3 separate regions of the Homo sapiens genome follow, and all the other regions are linked to region 1. Evidence: promoter capture Hi-C in 16 types of primary human blood cells and fetal thymus (Javierre and others, 2016). All regions are on one chromosome and are shown on one strand. The core of a region is centred on a gene start or on the middle of the fragment in contact, and the rest is flanking DNA. Distances in the headings are between cores, read along the strand shown.

Evidence for each region. Contacts are between HindIII fragments. The CHiCAGO score rates a contact against its expected background, and 5 or more counts as called.
Region 2: a fragment that was not itself captured here is called in contact with the fragment with the promoter of CWC22 in region 1 in 1 of 17 cell types (activated CD4 T cells); the score reaches 5.6 in activated CD4 T cells.
Region 3: a contact is called between a fragment that was not itself captured here and the fragment with the promoter of CWC22 in region 1, in 1 of 17 cell types (non-activated CD4 T cells). The highest score is 8.4, in non-activated CD4 T cells.

Annotation. Positions count from the first base shown.
Region 1 is chr2:180,005,427-180,009,692 of GRCh38, reverse strand. CWC22 (CWC22 spliceosome associated protein) reads left to right here and starts at 2,396. Exons shown (of 20, transcript NM_020943.3): 1 at 2,396-2,826. RefSeq lists an enhancer at 2,716-3,248. The HindIII fragment of the contact is 3,569 bases long and covers 1,003-4,266 here.
Region 2 is chr2:177,613,996-177,618,165 of GRCh38, reverse strand. It overlaps IFT70A (intraflagellar transport 70A), which reads left to right. Exons shown (of 1, transcript NM_152275.4): 1 at 1-4,170. The coding sequence ends at 1,462. It overlaps IFT70A-AS1 (IFT70A antisense RNA 1), which reads right to left. Exons shown (of 3, transcript NR_198966.1): 2 at 646-865. Among named protein-coding and RNA genes, the nearest start is that of IFT70A, 2.7 kb to the left of the region's middle. The HindIII fragment of the contact is 801 bases long and covers 1,430-2,230 here.
Region 3 is chr2:177,548,643-177,552,838 of GRCh38, reverse strand. IFT70B (intraflagellar transport 70B) reads left to right here and starts at 43. Exons shown (of 1, transcript NM_152517.3): 1 at 43-3,841. The coding sequence starts at 76. The coding sequence ends at 2,073. RefSeq lists enhancers at 1-66, 1-238, 239-1,043. The HindIII fragment of the contact is 254 bases long and covers 1,787-2,040 here.

The DNA.
Region 1 (4,266 bases), core at 1,147-3,646:
TTACCTTATAGTGACCATCAATGAAAAAATGCAGCAGCACCTGCCTGAAAAGAAGATCACTACCAGGCGCTCAGACTTCCCAGGAATTAGGATTTTTACACCACCAGTTTACCATAGAGAGCAGTAGAGCAGTAGCTGACAGCAAGGGAAATTTAGAATGAATAGTGGAGAAGAGAGGCAATGGATTCAGTGTGGCCTCAGGACCCAAAGATGGGGAGTGTAGTTTGTCTCACTAACTTGCCACTTCTAAATTTTTTTTAGGAAGAAATGTGCACTAGAACCCTGGAAAAGTTGTTCCTGAAAGGTGTATGGAGACTGGGTGTATGGAGACTGTGACAGGCACAGAGAGATGCTGCTCAGATACCTCTTCAAGAAAGGACTTGCTTGTAGCCTAGCTGCAAGCAGTGTGGTTAGGTGACAGCCTTCAACTGTTGAATCTTCATGTCCACCTTGGGTTTTTAGTTGAGGCCACACTCTTCTTGGGGTGGCTCTAGCCAGTGACTGAGCAAAACTGGTACAAGGGCCTAGCCATTTCATCCCATTGTAGGCCTCTTCATCTTTATTCTGGAGCTACTATTTCCTCCATTTTCCTTTCACCTTTATTATTCATAACTCTTTCTCAGTGTCTGCTTCCTGAAGGACCCAACTGACAAATCCAATTCTTTTCCAGCTCCATCTAGTTCTCCTCTGCTCAACCCTAACTTTCCTATTTCTGTTGATAGTTGTAGAGGTAGTATATTCATCAGGGTTCCCTAGAGGGACAGAACTAATAGGATATAGATAGATAGATAGATAGATAGATAGATAGATAGATAGATACACACACACGCACACACACACGTATATATATCCTATTACATATATATCCTATTTTTTATATATATCCTTATATATATATCCTAATATATATATCTATATATAAGGATATATATATAAAAAGGGGAGTTTATTAAGTATTAACTTACACAATCACAAGGTCCCACAATAGGCTGTCTGCAAGCTTGAGGAGCAAGGAGAGCCAGTCTGAGTCTCACAACTGAAGAATTTGGAGTCCAATGTTTGAGGGCAGGAAGCATCCAGCATGGGAGAAAGATATAGGCTGGGAGGCTAGGCCAGTCTTGCCTTTTCATATTTTTCTGCCTGCTTTATATTCGATGGTAGCTGATTAGATTGTTCCCACCAGATTAAGGGTGAGTCTGTCTTCCCCAGTCCACTGACTCAACTGTTAATCTCCTTTGGCAACACCCTCACAGATACACCCAGGATCAATACTTTGCATCCTTCAATCCAATCAAGTTGACATTCAGAATTAACCATCACCGGTAGTATTGTGGGTTTTTAAATATATGAATACAAATGTTCATCTCCAGATCCATCTCCTGTGCCCTGTATTGGTGCACCAAAATGCACCATCAACAATGGCCAAATATCTTAAATATGAAATAAAATAGATAACACTATTGTATACTAGCAATTATCTTAAATGCATCTTGTGTATCAACTAATTCAATTCTTAAAACTACTGCCTGGATGGATACTATTGGTATTTCCATTTAACAGATCAGGAAACGGCCACAGAATGTGAAGTTACTTGCCCCAGTCATCCATAAATAATAAAAGGACTCAAGATTCAAAATAAGTAGTCCAACTGCAGTGTTTTTATTCTTAATCATCACACTCTGCCTCCAGAAAGGAGTGGAAGCACAGCACCCTAAAACTGTAATAGAGAAGTGTGTGGAGAAACCAGTCCTGGTTTATGAAAGATTTGATAACATAAAGATATTCTTGGTTTAGGAAGAGAGTTTCCAAAATAGCAAGTAGTTGAACTTTTAGGTTTTGTTACTAGTGAAAAGTGAAGTTTAAAGAAACTGTTTGATGCCCTAGTTCTGCACGCTGTACAAACTGCTACTTCCTACTCAGCCAGGCAATCTCTTTATTCTCAGGTCATACCAGTTGGTACCTTAACCTAAAAGAGAGGCAACACAGTCTCTATAGAATTAGTTTTTCCTCATTATTTCACTCTATTTATGATTTAATATTCTCCCATTCTTATGGCCTGGATATCTTGGAATTTATTAGGCACTTAACTGTTGGTCAAACTCTTATAAAGTCTCAGGAAAATCTCTCTCTTAAGATTTTTCAAGGAAAGTGACAACTGACTGCTTTTTTAAAAAAAATTTCCCCAAAATGCAGTGAAATAGTTTTAAAGTAAATTCGGCTAGACCCTGAACACTACTAGGCTGCCAGTGAGCAGCGTGGATGTTAACTCGCTGGCGCGCATCTGTATGAACTACAATTCCCATCGTACACCGCGCCATTTCACGCTAAACTACAATTATGCTTTCCTCATTTCCGTCAGCACAGGCGCTGGATTTCGGACTTTGTAGTTCATGCCAACTTCTCTTTTTTGTCGCCATTTTGGCAACAAGACAGTGTGCCTGGATCGACTACTTTGACTCTGGTATTATGATATGGTATTTGAAATAAATTAAAGGGATAACGTGTCAAGCCAATTGAGCGTCAAGTTTTTAAATATTTCACTATTCGCCTTCTTCCTACCGTCGGTGCTCGGGAAGAGGAAGTGACGTACGTCCGGTGTAATGGCGGCGCGGTGGAGCTCTAGGTAATTATCGAACTCCGTGGAGTCCCCGCAGGCAGAGACGCGGAGTGGGGGTGGCGGGTCGCCGGATCGGGTGGGAAGTAAAAGACCCCCAGGAGTGGGTGCGGGCTCACTGATACGGCTGTGAGCGGCATTGGAGTGTGCGTGGGTCTTCTCGCTACGCTCGGGCCCGCAAGAGGGGTGTGAGAGCGGCTAGGTCCAAGCAGGTGGGGAGGGAATGGGCTGCCATGAACTGACTGCCTGAGCGGACCGGCTGACCTTCCTTGTGAAGTTCCTGGAGCTGTCTGAAATCCTGCACCAACGCTGGTGCTGTGTTGTTTCTTGTGCACTGCGTTTTATACTTAGAGCCTCTGGAGTCCATTGGGGCTTGCCAAAGCCCCTTTCCTAGTGCCCGGGTCCCAGGGTCAGGGGAGTGGGATTAATGAGATCTAGTTGATTAAAAGTTAGTTGAATTACTTGCACTCTTATGCCTCTTGCCGGCATTATATCCCTTTGACTATTTGTTTTAAATTTCATTAGCGTCTTCTTTTTCATTTATTTGCCCTGTAAATACTGATAGTGTCTAGTGTTTAGTCTTGAAGACACTTCGCTTCTCATGTGCCCGCTTCATCTGTCATTCTTGATCCTTCCATAACTTGAACTATCTCCAGTGAGGTAATAACTGCCAAACTTGGGTCTCCAGGCTCCACCTCTCTAACGAGCTCTGGGTCCTACAACACAGCATTATATAACGGAAATATAATAGTTAATTTCACTGAGTTTAACTGCAAAAACCACGGTACCTATTTCCATTTAATCCTAACAATTCTTCTGAGGTAAGTGGAGAAGGCAGGATTTGGAGAAAGGCTATTCTAGATGCAAGAATTAGGTAAGAGTTTCCTTTGCATTTTTAGATGTGCAGAGACTCGAAATAGCAGATAAGCAAGCAAACTTGGTTCTCAGCAGATCAGTTAACCTACCTCTTATCTGTATTTAGACTTACCTTGTTTTAGGATTGCTTGTGAATTCAGGAGTTAACATAAATTATCATCCTACTATGGAAGGGCAGATTTAAAATTGACATTAAAAGTGTGGTTTTGACCAGGAGAGGAGAAGCATTGTTACAGGCGTTATCAGTAGGTGGAGGAAAGCCACTTGTGTTGGTCCTGGGTGATGGACTAGTAGACCAAAGATTTCTGTTTTATCCAGCTATTATTAGGTCTGTCACTTGGAGCAAGTTACCTAAAGTCTCTAGTGTCAGCTTCATCATCTGGAAACATGTAGGTAGTAATACAATACCTGCCTCACTGTATTGTCTTTTTTTGAGTATAAAGAAAAATAATGCAGATGAGGCACTGAGCACAGCGTTAGCGTTGTATTATTGTAAATTACTACTATGATACAGTTGATGAGTTCTCTCTGTTCCTCAATTCTTGTTCTCTGGTTCTGAATGTTGCCTTTCCACCTGTAAGTGTCCTTCCAGTTGTTTTTTGTTTTTTGTTTTGTTTTGTTTTGTTTGAGACGGAGTCTTACTCTGTCGCCCAGGCTGGAGTGCTGTGGCGCTATCTCGGCTCACTGCAAGCTCCGCCTCCCTAGTTCATGCCATTCTCCTGCCTCAGCCTCCCAAGTAGCTGGGACTAAGGTGCCCGCCACCACGCCTGGCTAAT
Region 2 (4,170 bases), core at 581-3,080, 2.4 Mb after region 1:
CACACTGCAGGCCTCGGGCTACCAGCCTGACCTTTCCTACAACCTGGCTTTGGCCTATTACAGCAGCCGACAGTATGCCTCAGCACTGAAGCATATCGCTGAGATTATTGAGCGTGGCATCCGCCAGCATCCTGAGCTAGGTGTGGGCATGACCACCGAGGGCTTTGATGTTCGCAGTGTTGGCAACACCTTAGTTCTCCATCAGACTGCTCTGGTGGAAGCCTTCAACCTTAAGGCAGCCATAGAATACCAACTGAGAAACTATGAGGTAGCTCAAGAAACCCTCACCGACATGCCACCCAGGGCAGAGGAAGAGTTGGACCCTGTGACCCTGCACAACCAGGCACTAATGAACATGGATGCCAGGCCTACAGAAGGGTTTGAAAAGCTACAGTTTTTGCTCCAACAGAATCCCTTTCCTCCAGAGACTTTTGGCAACCTGTTGCTGCTCTACTGTAAATATGAGTATTTTGACCTGGCAGCAGATGTCCTGGCAGAAAATGCCCATTTGACGTATAAGTTCCTCACACCCTATCTCTATGACTTCTTAGATGCCCTGATCACTTGCCAGACAGCTCCTGAAGAGGCTTTCATTAAGCTTGATGGGCTAGCAGGGATGCTGACTGAGCAGCTTCGGAGACTCACCAAGCAAGTACAGGAAGCAAGACACAACAGAGATGATGAAGCTATCAAAAAGGCAGTGAATGAATATGATGAAACCATGGAGAAATACATTCCTGTGTTGATGGCTCAGGCAAAAATCTACTGGAATCTTGAAAATTATCCAATGGTGGAAAAGGTCTTCCGCAAATCTGTGGAATTCTGTAACGACCATGATGTGTGGAAGTTGAATGTGGCTCATGTTCTGTTCATGCAGGAAAACAAATACAAAGAAGCCATTGGTTTCTATGAACCCATAGTCAAGAAGCATTATGATAACATCCTGAATGTCAGTGCTATTGTACTGGCTAATCTCTGTGTTTCCTATATTATGACAAGTCAAAATGAAGAAGCAGAGGAGTTGATGAGGAAGATTGAAAAGGAGGAAGAGCAGCTCTCTTATGATGACCCAAATCGGAAAATGTACCATCTCTGCATTGTGAATTTGGTGATAGGAACTCTTTATTGTGCCAAAGGAAACTATGAGTTTGGTATTTCTCGAGTTATCAAAAGCTTGGAGCCTTATAATAAAAAGCTGGGAACAGATACCTGGTATTATGCCAAAAGATGCTTCCTGTCCTTGTTAGAAAACATGTCAAAACACATGATAGTCATTCATGACAGTGTTATTCAAGAATGTGTCCAGTTTTTAGGACACTGTGAACTTTATGGCACAAACATACCTGCTGTTATTGAACAACCCCTCGAAGAAGAAAGAATGCATGTTGGGAAGAATACAGTCACAGATGAGTCCAGACAATTGAAAGCTTTGATTTATGAGATTATAGGATGGAATAAGTAGTTATGACTGATAGTGGCTTTTTTCAAAATGGCTTTCTTACGTACCACACTTTTTTTTATCTGTATTTAGCCTTGGCATCTTTATATTTGTCTTATTTTGAATCTTATCCACTTTGTAAGAACAAGTTTATGTTTGAGCAACTTTTTCATTTAATCCAGAAGGGTAGGGACTATGCAGTGTAAGCTGCATCACTTCTGCTTTCTTCCTACTAGTGACAATCATCTGGTCTTGCCCTCAAGCAACAATTGCTAGAGTAACATCTTTGTATAAGCAAGTAACCCCAGATAGAGTTGACGTTTCAGCTTTGGGCTGTCAAAAGGGTATGTCATGGACCAAAGCACTGTTAGTACGGGTATGTTTGCATTTGGTCACTGATATGTAAATGACTGCTAGCCCACGGCTGGACCACTTCTCAATCAGCAAATAAAGCCATGTCTATTTTGCTATCTCAGCATAGACTATGCTGTCTGATAAATCTAATTCTTAACTCTATTTCTCCAGTTTTTTAGTCCTTTAACTTTCTGGATTGCAACGAAGTCTAGTTTAGACCTCTAAGCCCTTTTAGAAGTACAAGTATAATGGGAATTTCTTTTCTTGGTTCTTTTCAGGTTATGAGGTTTGGTCAGTGACAAAATTTTTTTTCATAATTTGGTTGATTGGTTGCTTCTTAAGTTTTATAATAAACGTTTTTCTTCATGTTCTATTTTTGATTTTACAGAAATGATTTTGCCTCCTTGTGGATACTGACATATATTAAGTGTGGAAGCTTATTAATATTTTTGGTTTTTTAAAAACTGAAATTTTTAATTTTTACTTTTTAATTTTTTAGGAAAAAATAAGCACTGAACTGAGAATGAGAAGAATAAAAGTATGAGTTCCATACCTTCTAATTTTAGGCTGTCAGAAATTCCTTTATTCTTTGGGATTTCACAATCATTTGAACTATCAGAAGCCTTTACAATTACTTTTAGCTGTAACATCCGATTCTGTATAAGCCACATAGAAAAAAGTTGCCTTTCTTTTTTTATGACCTGGATATATAAGCAAATCAGCTAGGAAATATATAATTGTATTTTATATTAATGTTTTCTAGGATTTTGGCTTACAGTAAATGTTAACCCCTATGGTAAGTGATTGTTATTGTTGGATGTTATACTGATTATTAATAAGAAATTTGGATTTTTGCCTTTTTACCTGGAATTTTTGCTTACAGCCGTAGCTATGAATATATATAGGGTGGTCCCCAGTCTCTGTTATGGTTGCGCATAAATTAATAATTTTATAAGTATTTAGAAATGGTATAATTCTCTTAACTTCCTCTTTCAGTTTTTGTACTAATGTTTGTTTTTGTTCGGGAAGAGGAGATTTGCTTTTAATCCTTCCAAAAAATGATGAACCACCGTTCCATTCAGTAGTTTGACAAGCTGTTATAATGTGTATTTTTTCCTCAATTATTCTTGAAATATTTAGAGCCTCTCCTGCTTCTAACATGAAGGCCTTTAGATGCCAGTCTGCCAGAAATCTGGAAACAGAGGAACCGGTGAAGTGAAGATGTAATGGAGATTTAGCTAATGATGTACTTCACAATCCACCTTGGATCTCCTGCATGTCCAAATCTCAGTAGTTAATCAAGTGTCTGCTGCCATTAACAGAACAGAAGTAATGGATAACAGAATGGAAATAAGAGATGCCAGAACTACTTCCATAACTAACTCACCAAATCAAATCATCAGTCCTCATATTCTTGTTTTATTTAATACAAGGAGAAGAGGCCATGCACTTTCCAAAAGGTCAAAGCCACATAGAATAGGAAGGCAATCTCTAGTTTAAAGCTTTCTCTTGGAGTGTTTTCTCCCCCTGTCTTCAAAGGGTCTACTTGAGAGATAGTGGTGTTTACTGCTGCAGCATGTATCACAAGATAAGAAATGAAAAATCAATCTTTCTTACCACCCTGTTCTCTTTCCCTTTTTTATCTTTTCCCTTTTGTCAATTATAGAATTATAGGGACATTTTTCTCTGATAGCTGGAAGTTGAACCTCAACCAGGTATAAAAGATGCATAACAACCTTTTAGCAGTAAGTGTCAAGTGAGTGAGCACTATGATTATCAAGGTGACTTTGGAAACCTTTTAAAAATGCATTTTTGCAAAACAAGATAACATATATTGATAAAAAGTGACTCTCAGATTGGTAATGCCAGAAAAAATTTTAAGAGGACTCACCAAAAGTACTAGATCTATGTAAGTTGTAGAATAGAGTGAAGTTTTTTTATATATTTGTGGTAGCCTCCATCTTTTAAACTTTTTGAACTCAGTAGAAAAACAGACTGAAATTTTAAAGACATGCAGTATTTGTATCATTTTAAATTCTGTAACACTGGGAATTAAATATACTCAACTTTAGAGGACACTTGCCTTACTGTAATCTATAATCATTTTATATTGAAAAATAGGGCCAGACATTAGCCAAACGGTAATTAATTTACTAGCCATAGGTATAGTGTTTAATATTCTCTTGGGGAGTGAGTCTTTACTAAGTGATTACTCTATACTTGATACCACTATTAATTGAGGTTCTTTTGGTTGTTTAATTAAATCAGCTCCTTTGGATTTGGGCCAAGATTGATCCACCACATACTGAAATCCGTTCTACAACATCATAATGTGTATTTACTAGAAAAGGACTTGCTTCATAAGGAAAAATTATTAG
Region 3 (4,196 bases), core at 664-3,163, 2.5 Mb after region 1:
CAAGGAAACCGGCAGTCTTCCGCTTCCGGTTGCTCTGTTGCCATAGTAACCGCACCCATAACAGCCGTGGTGGTTATGGCTGGCCTGAGCGGCGCGCAGATCCCCGACGGGGAGTTCACCGCGGTCGTGTACCGCCTCATCCGCAATGCACGCTACGCCGAGGCGGTGCAGCTGCTGGGCGGAGAACTGCAGCGGAGCCCTAGGAGCCGCGCCGGCCTGTCGCTGCTAGGCTACTGCTACTACCGCCTGCAGGAGTTCGCGCTGGCGGCCGAGTGCTATGAGCAGCTGGGCCAGCTGCACCCGGAACTGGAGCAGTACCGCCTGTACCAGGCCCAGGCCCTGTACAAGGCCTGCCTTTATGCGGAGGCCACCCGGGTCGCCTTCCTTCTCCTGGATAACCCCGCCTACCACAGCCGGGTCCTCCGCCTGCAAGCTGCTATCAAGTACAGCGAGGGCGATCTGCCAGGGTCCAGGAGCCTGGTAGAGCAGCTGCCGAGTAGGGAAGGGGGAGAGGAAAGTGGGGGCGAGAATGAGACCGATGGCCAGATCAACCTGGGTTGTTTGCTCTACAAGGAGGGACAGTATGAAGCTGCATGCTCCAAGTTTTTTGCCGCCCTGCAGGCCTCGGGCTACCAGCCTGACCTTTCCTACAACCTGGCTTTGGCCTATTACAGCAGCCGACAGTATGCTTCAGCACTGAAGCATATCGCTGAGATTATTGAGCGTGGCATCCGCCAGCACCCTGAGCTAGGTGTGGGCATGACCACTGAGGGCATTGATGTTCGCAGTGTTGGCAACACCTTAGTCCTCCATCAGACTGCTCTGGTGGAAGCCTTCAACCTTAAGGCAGCTATAGAATACCAACTGAGAAACTATGAGGCAGCTCAAGAAGCCCTCACTGACATGCCACCCAGGGCAGAGGAAGAGTTGGACCCTGTGACCCTACACAACCAGGCACTAATGAACATGGATGCCAGGCCTACAGAAGGGTTTGAAAAGCTACAGTTTTTGCTCCAACAGAATCCCTTTCCTCCAGAGACTTTTGGCAACCTGTTGCTGCTCTACTGTAAATATGAGTATTTTGACCTGGCAGCAGATGTCCTGGCAGAAAATGCCCATTTGATTTATAAGTTCCTCACACCCTATCTCTATGACTTCTTGGACGCTGTGATCACTTGCCAGACAGCTCCTGAAGAGGCTTTCATTAAGCTTGATGGGCTAGCAGGGATGCTGACTGAGGTCCTCCGGAAACTTACCATACAAGTACAGGAAGCAAGACACAATAGAGATGATGAAGCTATCAAAAAGGCAGTGAATGAATATGATGAAACCATGGAGAAATACATTCCTGTGTTGATGGCTCAGGCAAAAATCTACTGGAATCTTGAAAATTATCCAATGGTGGAAAAGATCTTCCGCAAATCTGTGGAATTCTGTAACGACCATGATGTGTGGAAGTTGAATGTGGCTCATGTTCTGTTCATGCAGGAAAACAAATACAAAGAAGCCATTGGTTTCTATGAACCCATAGTCAAGAAGCATTATGATAACATCCTGAATGTCAGTGCTATTGTACTGGCTAATCTCTGTGTTTCCTATATTATGACAAGTCAAAATGAAGAAGCAGAGGAGTTGATGAGGAAGATTGAAAAGGAGGAAGAGCAGCTCTCTTATGATGACCCAGATAAGAAAATGTACCATCTCTGCATTGTGAATTTGGTGATAGGAACTCTTTATTGTGCCAAAGGAAATTATGACTTTGGTATTTCTCGAGTTATCAAAAGCTTGGAACCTTACAACAAAAAGCTGGGAACAGACACCTGGTATTATGCCAAAAGATGCTTCCTGTCCTTGTTAGAAAACATGTCAAAACACACAATCATGCTTCGTGATAGTGTTATTCAAGAATGTGTCCAGTTTCTAGAACACTGTGAACTTCATGGCAGAAACATACCTGCTGTTATTGAACAACCCCTGGAAGAAGAAAGAATGCATGTTGGAAAGAATACAGTCACATATGAGTCTAGGCAGTTAAAAGCTTTGATTTATGAGATTATAGGATGGAATATATAGTAATAGCTGATAGTGGCATTTATCAAATGGCTTTGTTATGTAAATTTGCATCGCTTTATTTACCCTTTGGCATCTTTATATTTGTTACATGTTGAACTTTGTACACTTATGCATTATAAAAAAAAAAGTAGCTAAAACTTTTGCTGTTAAATTTCCCAGAAAGTGACATATTCTAAGAACTTTTACCCCAGGAGTTATGAAAAATTCCAAACTTATGAGGAATGTTTATATCAGAAGTTGTAATACGTTTGTTTCCTTTCCTCTGTTATCTTTTGTGCTTTGACGTATCTTGAGGGGTCTTTGCACAAGGATTACATCATTCAGGGACCAAGCACTATCTCAGTAATAGTTAAGAGTAGTCTTTAAATAATCATTTCAGGGATTGTGTGAGAGTAGTCTCACAATTTACACTCATTAATTTGTAATGCATACTTTTTATATAGACTTTAGGATATTTTGGCAGTGTTTATTCATATGGATATAATTCTTTACCTAACCAAAATTCCTTAGGTTATAAGTGGTTTTAACGTGCAAAAGTCAGTAAAAAATTTTGTTGCCTTAACAAAATTATGGTGCTATAATGTAGAGACAATGAACGATTATCAAAGAACAAATTTCCCTGGTTTTCTTTTGTTCCCTTTAATAATTTAAATATATGAACAAGATACACTGTTACTATTTTCCATGATAACTTTTTAAATATCTCTGTGAGAAATAACAGAGCTATCCTGAGAACTCAGGGGTTTGTTTAAGAGACACAGGTTTTGTTATGTTTGTTGCCCAGGCTAGTATCCAGCTCCTAGGCTTAAGCATACTCCCACTTCAGCTTCCCAAGTAGCTGGGACTACTGGCACAAATCACTGGGTCCAGTTCTCAGTTCTTAATTCCTACCTTTGTGTTTGCAATTTAGGATATGCTGGCTGTACAGTGTTTCCATGTTGTAGCCTCTTGAATAAGGAAAAATCTCAGCCACCAGGTCTGACCAAAAAGGTCAATTCTAAGTTGTAATGTTCATTTCATGTCCGCAACTCCCAAGAGTTATTTGGAGTTCCCACTGGGAACCACATGCATTCTGATCAGGCATTTTATTTTCTGAACCTTACAAGAGCCTTACTATTTGATTTCCCACTCCTCACTCCTCTCTTCCCACAAAAAGTAACTGTCAATCCTAACTTGACCTGGCTTAGAAAAATCAAGTGTATTAGACTGAATCATATGCAGTTGTTGATTTTGACAGTTTTTGATGTACAAAACTAGCAGTTTCTCATAGCTCAACCTAGTAGCTTTCTTCTGAATGATAGGGAACCTCTGCCATAATGAGATGATTTTTTCCTTCAAGGAAAAGGAACCACTTAGCCACATAAGTACTGATAAGAAACATGCTCAGCATAATTCCTCTGTAGCATGACCTCCTGAGTGCTCAAATTGTATTATACCAGGAAATTTGGCTTATTGTGAAGTTCAATGGTTTTGAATTTATGGCATTTTAAATCTTAATTATCTGAGCTGCTATCATTTACCACTGATGCTTTAGTCTCACATGTGGAGGACAAGCAATGTTTAGTGACCTCTTCACTGCATCCCATAGCACATTCAATGTCTGGGAAATGTTCTTTGTTTGACAACTTCTGTACTAAAAGTGTTGCTGCAGTAGCTTTGTGCCCCTGTCAGTCTTGGTAGCCCCTTAAGATTTGGAAAGTAAATGAACTGAAATCTTGTTTTCAATGGCCATATTAAAATTCTTTTTTTTTTTCCTGTTTCTTCTAAACCACACTATTTTCTTTAGGGGGAAAAAAAAGCATAAAGTGTAACTAATGTTAACCACCCAAAAACAAATGTTTTCCAGATTCCCTTTTGCAAATAGCCTGGTCTTTATTTGGCCACAATTTATTTACCCAGGTGCTATGTGTTTGTGGTTTTCATGTATGTGTAATTTAACTTTTCAGAACATAAAAAGCTTTTCAGAATGGTTTTTAACCCCTTGCTGCTGGGCATTTGGGATTTCCTGCTTAGTAATGTATAAGGAAATCCTGACTGCTCACACCACTAAGAAATAAAGGTGAACCATGCCATTTGTCCCCTTCCTTACCCTGGCTCTCAGAGAGGAACCCACCCAGATTCAG